Linked DNA regions of Homo sapiens: region 2 is linked to region 1. The links are contacts of gene promoters, found by promoter capture Hi-C in human tissues and cell types (Jung and others, 2019). All regions are on one chromosome and are shown on one strand. Each heading gives the region's core, a stretch centred on a gene start or on the middle of the fragment in contact. The rest is flanking DNA. Distances are from core to core; before and after follow the strand shown. Region 1 holds the start of KCNMB4 (potassium calcium-activated channel subfamily M regulatory beta subunit 4). Region 2 overlaps PTPRB-AS1 (PTPRB antisense RNA 1).

Region 1 (4,122 bases), core at 1,065-3,564:
TCTAAAAAAAAAAATGTTTCTAAAACCCTGAGATTTCTTTTTAAATTCCTGAGCATTAAGAGGATCAAGTTACAACATTTGTCTTTGAGACGTTATCACCTCTTCAAGATCTTTAACATTATACTCCAAATTCTATATTCTTAGTCCTATATTTACTGCTTATGTATTATTGATATTTTTTAAGGTAAATCAATATTCATTTGTCGACAGGAGCATTTTTTTTTTGAGAGGAGTCATTCATATTTTTAAAAAGAAATATTTTCTAAATGTCTCAAATTCAAGAATTTACTGTTCAGGAGGTAAGACCACAAGTTTTATTGCAGAGTGACGGTAAGCTGTTTTAAATACTATTATAATATTAATGTAGAATTTTTTTCTTTTGGATTAATATAAATATATCTTGTTAGAGTTAACAGAAAGTTTTCCTGTGAACACAAGATGCATTCCCTTTTGGACTGTTTTTCTGCTTGATCCCTCAAAAAAAGGAAAAATGTCAGTAACTTTTAAAAAGATACATACCTTTGATAGTTAAGCAACAAGGAGAGCAGAAAAGATCAAGGGAAGTAGAAACGGAACCAGAACCAGGTGCACTACAAAGCTCAATTAGTTCACAGGCTAAGGACACTGCTTTTTATAAGTTATTTTTCTCCATTGGGAACAGTTTTCTGAGACTTCCTCTCTCTGCTCTCCATCCCGGGAGTCCTAACCAGGTTTTATCTTTTTTTTTTTTCTTTTTCTTTTTCTTCTTGCTTGCTTTCGAGACCAATAGAAGTTGTCAGAGAAGTCATATTAGGTACATTTCACTGAAGGTTTTCTATTTTCAGCAAGTTTTACTGTTCTCCAGACGACTCCTGACTGTCCCTAAACACAAAGGGTAACTAGGCTCCCTGTAGACTCTTTTGAGAATCTATTTCATGAAAACTAGGAGCCCTCTGTACTTCCCAAAATGGACCCGCAATATTCCACATTTGATTCCGGGTCGTTTGTCAAGCCACAAAAGCTTATCTTTGAACCCCAAGTTGAAAATGCCTATGTAGAGCGAAAAGGTGAGGAACTCTCTCACAACTTTCGAGAGTCCCCTCGACCTTTCAAGGAAGGTCATTCCATCTGAGTTCTAGATGAGACCAGCTGAAGCTCGGACCTTGACCGTGAGCTGGAGTAGGTGGATCCCCGCTAACCACTGGCTTTAAATGGAGGAAAAGTTAACTTTCTTGGCTCCTTGCACTTCTCCAAACCCAGTCCGGTAGGCGCAGGACCCGGACTGGGTCGAGGCCTCAAAATCTGAGACCAGGCAAGACAGGTTTTAAAGTAAGCCTCTGGGCACCACTGGTCGCCGCGCGTAAACCCACCTGAAAAGACCGGAGCCCTGGGGCTCCCTGATGTAGTCATTCCTGGTTTGAGCACAGCCTGCGCCACCTGGTCTCCTCCTAGCAATGCGAGCACACGCCGAACCCTCCCCGCGCGGAGTCTAACACCGACGCTGCCTCCAAACCTCCCTCGCGGGGAGCCCCTGGGTGCGCGGGGCGTTCTTACCTTGGGGTTGGTCAGGAGCTGGTGCTCGTCGCTGTGCAGCAGCGCCCTAGAGTTGGACTCAGAGTTGTTCACGTAGACCTGGACGCAGGGGTACTGCGAGGTGCCCCTGCAGTCGGCGCCACAGGTGAAGGTGCACTCGAACACCTCGCCGATCTGCTGCACCGACAGCACCGTGCAATTGGCCTCCGTGGCTTGCAGATCCTGCAGCGCGGGACTCAGCCAGCAGAAGCCGAAGATGAAGAGCGACACGACGCCGGAGATGATGAGAAACAAGCCGAGCCGGATGCTCTTGTCCTCGGCTTCCGTGTACTCGTAAGCCACCCGGAGCTTCGCCATCGCCCCCCACTCTCGGCGGCTGGCGTGCTCCCCCCGCCCCCTCCCGCCCCCGGCGCCGAGCCCGACTGCCTCGGGCGGGAGGAGCCGCCGCCGCCACCGCCGCCGCCGCGCGACAGCAGGGGAGTGGGCGGCGAGGGGGAGCGCGCGAGAACAAAGGGGCCGAGGCCAGCGACGCCCCCGGCGGCGGCGGCGGCAGCGCCCCCCAGCCCCCCAGCCGCCGCCTGGGCCCCGCGGTGCAGCAGCCGCTTCAGAGCCTCCTGCACCCTCGGGCGCGGGGAGCGCACGGACCGCTCCAGCTTCCAGCGCCCCCTGCCAGCCTCCGCCCCCGCACTCTCCCCGCCTCCCCCACCCCGCCTCCTCTCGTCGGGTGTCTCTCTGTCTCCATCGCCCGCTGGCCGCTACTCCGCTGACTCGCCCGGCAGCTGCCCCAAGGCTAGGAGTGTCTGAGCTGGGGCGAGCCCGGGGGCTCCCCCGTGCAGGAGGAGGCTCCGCCCCGCCCCGTCCGCAGCAGACCCGGGCCCTTCCGCCCCGCCCCGCTCCGCCCCGCCCCGCCCGGGGGCGTCTCCTTTGGGCGAGGGGCTGACGGGCACAAGCGACAGCGGCGACTTGCAATCGGAATCTTCGCTCACTCCCCTTAGAGGGACGTCCGAGATGAAAGATTAAGATCAATTTAGCTTAACCGGAGGGAAGTTAAAATAATAATAATAATAAGAGGGGAGGGTGGAGTTCAAGTGGAGCGGCGGGAATCTTGAACTCCAAACGAGTACTGGTCACCTGCAGGGAGAGCGGCCAGGCTCCGGGCGCACCCCGGGAAGCGGGCACGGGTGGCGGTGTGGGAGGACACGAGCCGCCCAGGCCGGGCGGATCGAGGTGAAAGCCCCAGGCTAGCGGTGTGCGCTGGGAGGTCCCCGGGGACGACTGAATCGCAGGTTCCCATGCCACGGGCGGGCTGGCGCGCGGTGGTGCCGGAGGCGTGACCCAGCCGCGCCCACGCCGCCAGCGGCTGCGCCCAAGGGAGCGCAGTAACCGTCCAGTCCCAGGACTTGGGCCTCCTAACCGTCTTGGCGCAGACCCGCGCCCCCTGACCCTGCTGAGGCCGGGAGGGCTGCAGGATTGGAGTTAAACAAGCTGAGTCAGGTGGAGTTTGCTGTGGAGGCAATGTGCGTGGGGGCAGGAGGCTGGACGAAGGAAACTTGCTGCTTAGGTCGTCGGTGACCCTTGTGGCAACTTAGGTCTCTGGCAGCCGAGTTGACCCCAACTTGATTTGCCCCCATGGCTGGGGCTGACTGAGACCAAAGGAAAAAGGTGGAGAGCTTTGCAGCCTGGAAAGAAATACCACTTTACCCATCAGAAAAGTACTCTTGCTTTGGGGCTCGCAAGAACAGAATCATTTCTGTCGTTTCCCTCCTTAGGAGTCTTGCCACCCCTGACCCGCCCCAGGATTTGTAGATGAGGTTTCCAGGAGCGCTGCTTAAAGCGACAGCGCCGGGCAGACCCACTTTGGGACAGGTACTGTTTCTAGACCTGTGTTCTGCTCTTAATTCTTGCCGTTGCTCCCTCCTCCCCCAATTACGCTAACAATGCTTCAGCCTCTATTGTTTTCGCGACCTTTTTAAAGTTAGAATGACCTTTTCCCAAACTACACTTTTATCATAAAATCAAACTTGAGAACTATTTATATGTACATTTCGAAGAATAAAATCAGAATATTAACTTCCTTGCAAACTACATAAACTTTTTTTGTTTGCTTGTAAGTCTCAAATGAATAAACTCTTAATTATGTTCCTGATGAATACGGAAACATGGAATCATGGAATTCTTGACTTCTCTTTCCTGGACTTCAAATGTTACTTAACTGGTATTGAGTACCTTTCGACTGCAGTTCTGATAACGTTATTTTGAAGCACTACATTATGACAGGTAACAAGTATTTCCCAGCAATGGGCAAATTAATTACAGGAAGATCCTAAGTGTCTTTTTCTCAATAAATTAAGAAGATGTAGAGTTTGAAAAACGTCCAAATTAGGAAGATGCTTTGTTCTCTAATACCTTTCAGGTTTTGAGATTTTCTTTTTTTAATTTAAATGTAAGAATTGTATTCTTTTCCTGTTAGCATAAAGACAATTGTGATTACATTGCTTAAAAGTGAGTTTAATAATTGAAATAGCATAACCGAAAATCACAAATCTTCAATCTGAATCTTTTTCCTATTGCAGGAAAAATAAAAAACATAGGAAATAATCTTTTTTTTCT
Region 2 (3,783 bases), core at 458-2,957, 140 kb before region 1:
TATGAACTGCATATGTGAGGGATCTAGGCTGAGCACTCCTTATGAGAATCTAGCACCTGATGATCTGAGGTGGAACAGTTTCATCCTGAAACCATCCCCCTCCTTCCACCACCCCCCAAGTCCATAGAAAAATTTTCTTCCACAAAACTGGTCCCTGGTGCCAAAAAGGTTGGGGACCACTGATTTAGACAGAGCTTTTTACTTTTAAATGGCACCCAAGGTACTTGGCGAAATAATCTGTACAGCAAAATCCTGTGACACGAGATTACCTGGATAACAAACCTGAACCAAAAATAAGTTTAAAAATAATAATAAGGCCAGGCATGGTGGCTCACACCTGTAATCCCAGAATTTTGGGAGGATGAGGTGGGTGGATCACGAGGTCAGGAGATCAAGACCATCCTGGCCAACATGGTGAAACCCCATCTCTACTAAAAATACAAAAATTAGCTGGGCATGGTGATGGGTGCCTGTAGTCCCAGCTACTCAGGAGGCTGAGGCAGGAGAATCGCTTGAAACCGCGAGTCAGAGGTTGCAGTGAGCCAAGATCGTGCCACTGCACTCCAGCCTGGGCGACAGAACAGGACTCTGTCTAAAAATAATAATAATAATAATAATAATAATAATAAATAAAAGGCACCTGAGGCTATTTTTGAGTGCCTTCAACTTCCATACAATACAGATTAATATCCTCACTTTACAAATACAGAGGTAGATGCACAGAAAAGACTGGAGAGTGGCCCAAAATTTAGCAGAATAGGAACAATGGCTAATGCACATTATGCACTAATTGTGTGCCAAATGTTCTATATGTCTCATCTAATTCAACTCTTTATACAACTCTTGTTGTTATACCTATTTGGAGACAAAGAAATTGAAGCTTAAAAAGACAAGGTAGGCCTGGTGCGGTGGCTCATGCCTGTAATCCCAGCACTTTGGGAGGCTGAGGCAGGTGGATCATGAGGTCAGGAGATCGAGACCATCCTGGCGAACACGGTGAAACCCTGTCTCTACTAAAAATACAAAAAAGTAGCTGGACGTGGTGGCATGCACTTGTAATCCCAGCTACTCGGGAGGCTGAGGCAGGAGAATCACTTGAACCTGGGAGGCAGAGGTTGCAGTGAGCCGAGATCACGCCACTGCACTCCAGCCTAGGTAACAGAGTGAGACTCCATCTCAAAAAAAAAAGACAAGGTAATTTTCCCAAGGCCATCTAGTATTAAAGCTCAGCTTCCAATATGAATCCTTCTGATTTCAAAATGTGACCTCTTAACCTCTATGCCCACGTAGCTCAAAGTTTGGTCCCCAGACCAGCAGCATCAGCATCACCTGGGATGTTGTTAGAAATGCATATTCTTAGATAGCACTCTCCAGTCCTACTGAATATGAAAATCTGGGGATGGGGCCCAGCAATCTGTGTTTTATTAACAAGTCCTCCAAGGTGATTCTGATGCATGATATTCAGTATTGAGTTTGGGCAACCTCCCTGCTTTGTAGATTCTCATCTGTCAAATTTAACTCTTTGAACATGCCCTGTTTGACAAAAAGGAATAGAAACATGTAATATTTTTGAGCCCTAGCACATAATAAGCACTTAATAATCATTAGCAACTAGTATTACTACATGTCAGGTTTTATTCTGAACTGCTTTAGCTGCATTATCTCATTTAATTCTTTTAAAACTAAATAAGGTGGAGATTATCATTCCCATTGTAGGAGTGAAAAGAGCTGCTTCTTTGTCCTCTGAAGATGTGCTGAAAATCAACTGACAAAAGGCAAATTAATAGGAGAAAAGGCATACAAATTATTAACATGCTTGAGGGAAAATCACAGTGATTGCTCTATAACCCAGTATGGTATAGAAGCTTATATATCCTTTTTCATAGAAGAGAAGATAGGGAATGTAGACAATTCTTTTGAGGCGCAATAAACCATTAGGGAGAATGAATGGACCTGGGAAGTTGAAGTAGACATTACAGGGGCAGAGCTGCACAGAAACAAAGATTGTCTTTTTTTTTTTTTTTTTTTTTTTGAAACAGAGTCTCGCTCTGTCACCCAGGCTGGAGCGCAGTGGTGCGATCTCGGCTCACTGCAACCTCCACCTCCCGGGTTCAAGCAATTCTCCTGCCTCAGCCTCCCGAGTAGCTGAGATTACAGGCGTGCACCACCATGCCTGGCAATTTTTGTATTTTTAGTAGAGACAGGGTTTCACAAAGTTGGCCAGGTTGGTCTCAAACTCCTGATCTCAGGTGATCCACTCACCTGGGCCTCCGAAAGTGCTAGGATTACAGGCGTGAGCCATTGCGCCCGGAAAAAAGGTTGACTTATTATGCAGATGAAATCCCTCAGTTAATCTCTTGGAGCAGCACTCTGTCTAGATGTGGTGATGACTCCTAGTATCTTTTCTCCAGTGGTTGATCTCTGGAGAGATCCTTAGGGAGGGGGATTAAGACCACAGAATTTCTTTTAGAAAGCTTTCTTCATCAGATAAGGAAATCCAAAGAGTCCCTCCCTGAGCTTAGGGTTGTAAGGGAAGGGGAGAAACACGGTTAAACCTTGATTCTGAAGCAGCTTCTAAGAACTCTCAGCACCAGCCTTTGAGGTATCATTCTCCGAGCCAACATAATCCTATAAATGAAGAAACAGAGGCATACAGAAAGTAAGTAATTTTGCCCTAGGACATGTCAACCTAAAGAAAAAACAGACAAAATTAACATAAGGAGAGAGTTTATTTGGGCCAAGTTTGAAGACTGAAACCCAGAAGCATGGACTCAAGTTGCCCTAAATATATGTCCCGACTTTACAGCAGTTACAAGTGGGCTTTTAAAGGAAAAAAGAACAGGCATGCAGAAGACATAGCCAAGGAAAAAGAAAGAAAGAAAAAAGAAATAAGAAGAGGCACTTCCTTGGTTGTTTACCAAGAAATGACAATAACATAAACTATTGATTTGCTATACATTGTTCTTTGTATCAAAAATCCCAGGAACATGAAGATAATGGGTGAGGCAGCTAGTCAGAAAACCACAGGTAAGAAAAGAAAGAATAATATGCCTTTGAGCAATTGCATTTAGGCATGGAATGGGTGCATGACTGAAGTCTCATACTCATGTCTCCCTGGGCCTGACACATTTTGCAAAGTTCACATAGTTCAGACTTATCTGAGCTATTTTTTATTCTCACTTCCCCCTTTTGATTAAAATTTTTCTCTTCTAAAAGCACTGAAGATTAACATTTTAGATATAAGTCTGACAAACTTTACTAGGAAAGTTCATTTCCAGGTAATCTCATTCCACAGAGAGAGAAAAAGGAGAGACACTATGGCTTATCATCTTCATGAGGTCTCAAGGTCAAACTGATTGGCAACTCCAAGGAACACAGCAATGTTCTTTATTTTGTTTTTATTTTTTATTTTTTAGACGGAGTCTCGCTCTGTCACCCAGGCTAGAGTGCAGTGGCGCAATCTTGGCTCACTGCAAGCTCCCCCTCCCGGGTTCACGCCATTCTCCTGCCTCAGCCTCCCGAGTAGCTGGGACTACAGGCACCAGCCACCACGCCCGGCTAATTTTTTGTATTTTTTTAGTAGAGACGGGGTTTCACCGTGTTAGCCAGGATGGTCTCGATCTCCTGACCTCGTGATCCACCCACCTCGGCCTCCCAAAGTGCTGAGACTACAGGCGTGAGCCACCACGCCTGGCACAGCAATGTTCTTAACCAGGCCATCTGCTTACAAAGGAGCTGCAGCATGTTGGATCAGTTCTAAGGATCTTGCTATCATGATTAGTT

What was found. The method cuts DNA at HindIII sites, captures the fragments that hold promoters and counts their contacts. A contact is called where the count stands out against the background at its distance.
Region 2: a contact is called between a fragment that was not itself captured here and the fragment with the promoter of KCNMB4 in region 1, in 1 of the 25 tissues and cell types used here (H1 embryonic stem cells).

Annotation. Positions count from the first base shown.
Region 1 is chr12:70,364,482-70,368,603 of GRCh38, reverse strand. KCNMB4 (potassium calcium-activated channel subfamily M regulatory beta subunit 4) reads right to left here and starts at 2,314. Exons shown (of 3, transcript NM_014505.6): 1 at 1,534-2,314. The coding sequence starts at 1,869. RefSeq lists a silencer at 2,259-2,498. The HindIII fragment of the contact is 14,293 bases long and covers 1-4,122 here.
Region 2 is chr12:70,509,057-70,512,839 of GRCh38, reverse strand. It overlaps PTPRB-AS1 (PTPRB antisense RNA 1), which reads right to left. Exons shown (of 9, transcript XR_001749196.2): 3 at 2,556-2,628. Among named protein-coding and RNA genes, the nearest start is that of PTPRB-AS1, 43 kb to the right of the region's middle. The HindIII fragment of the contact is 3,647 bases long and covers 1-3,530 here.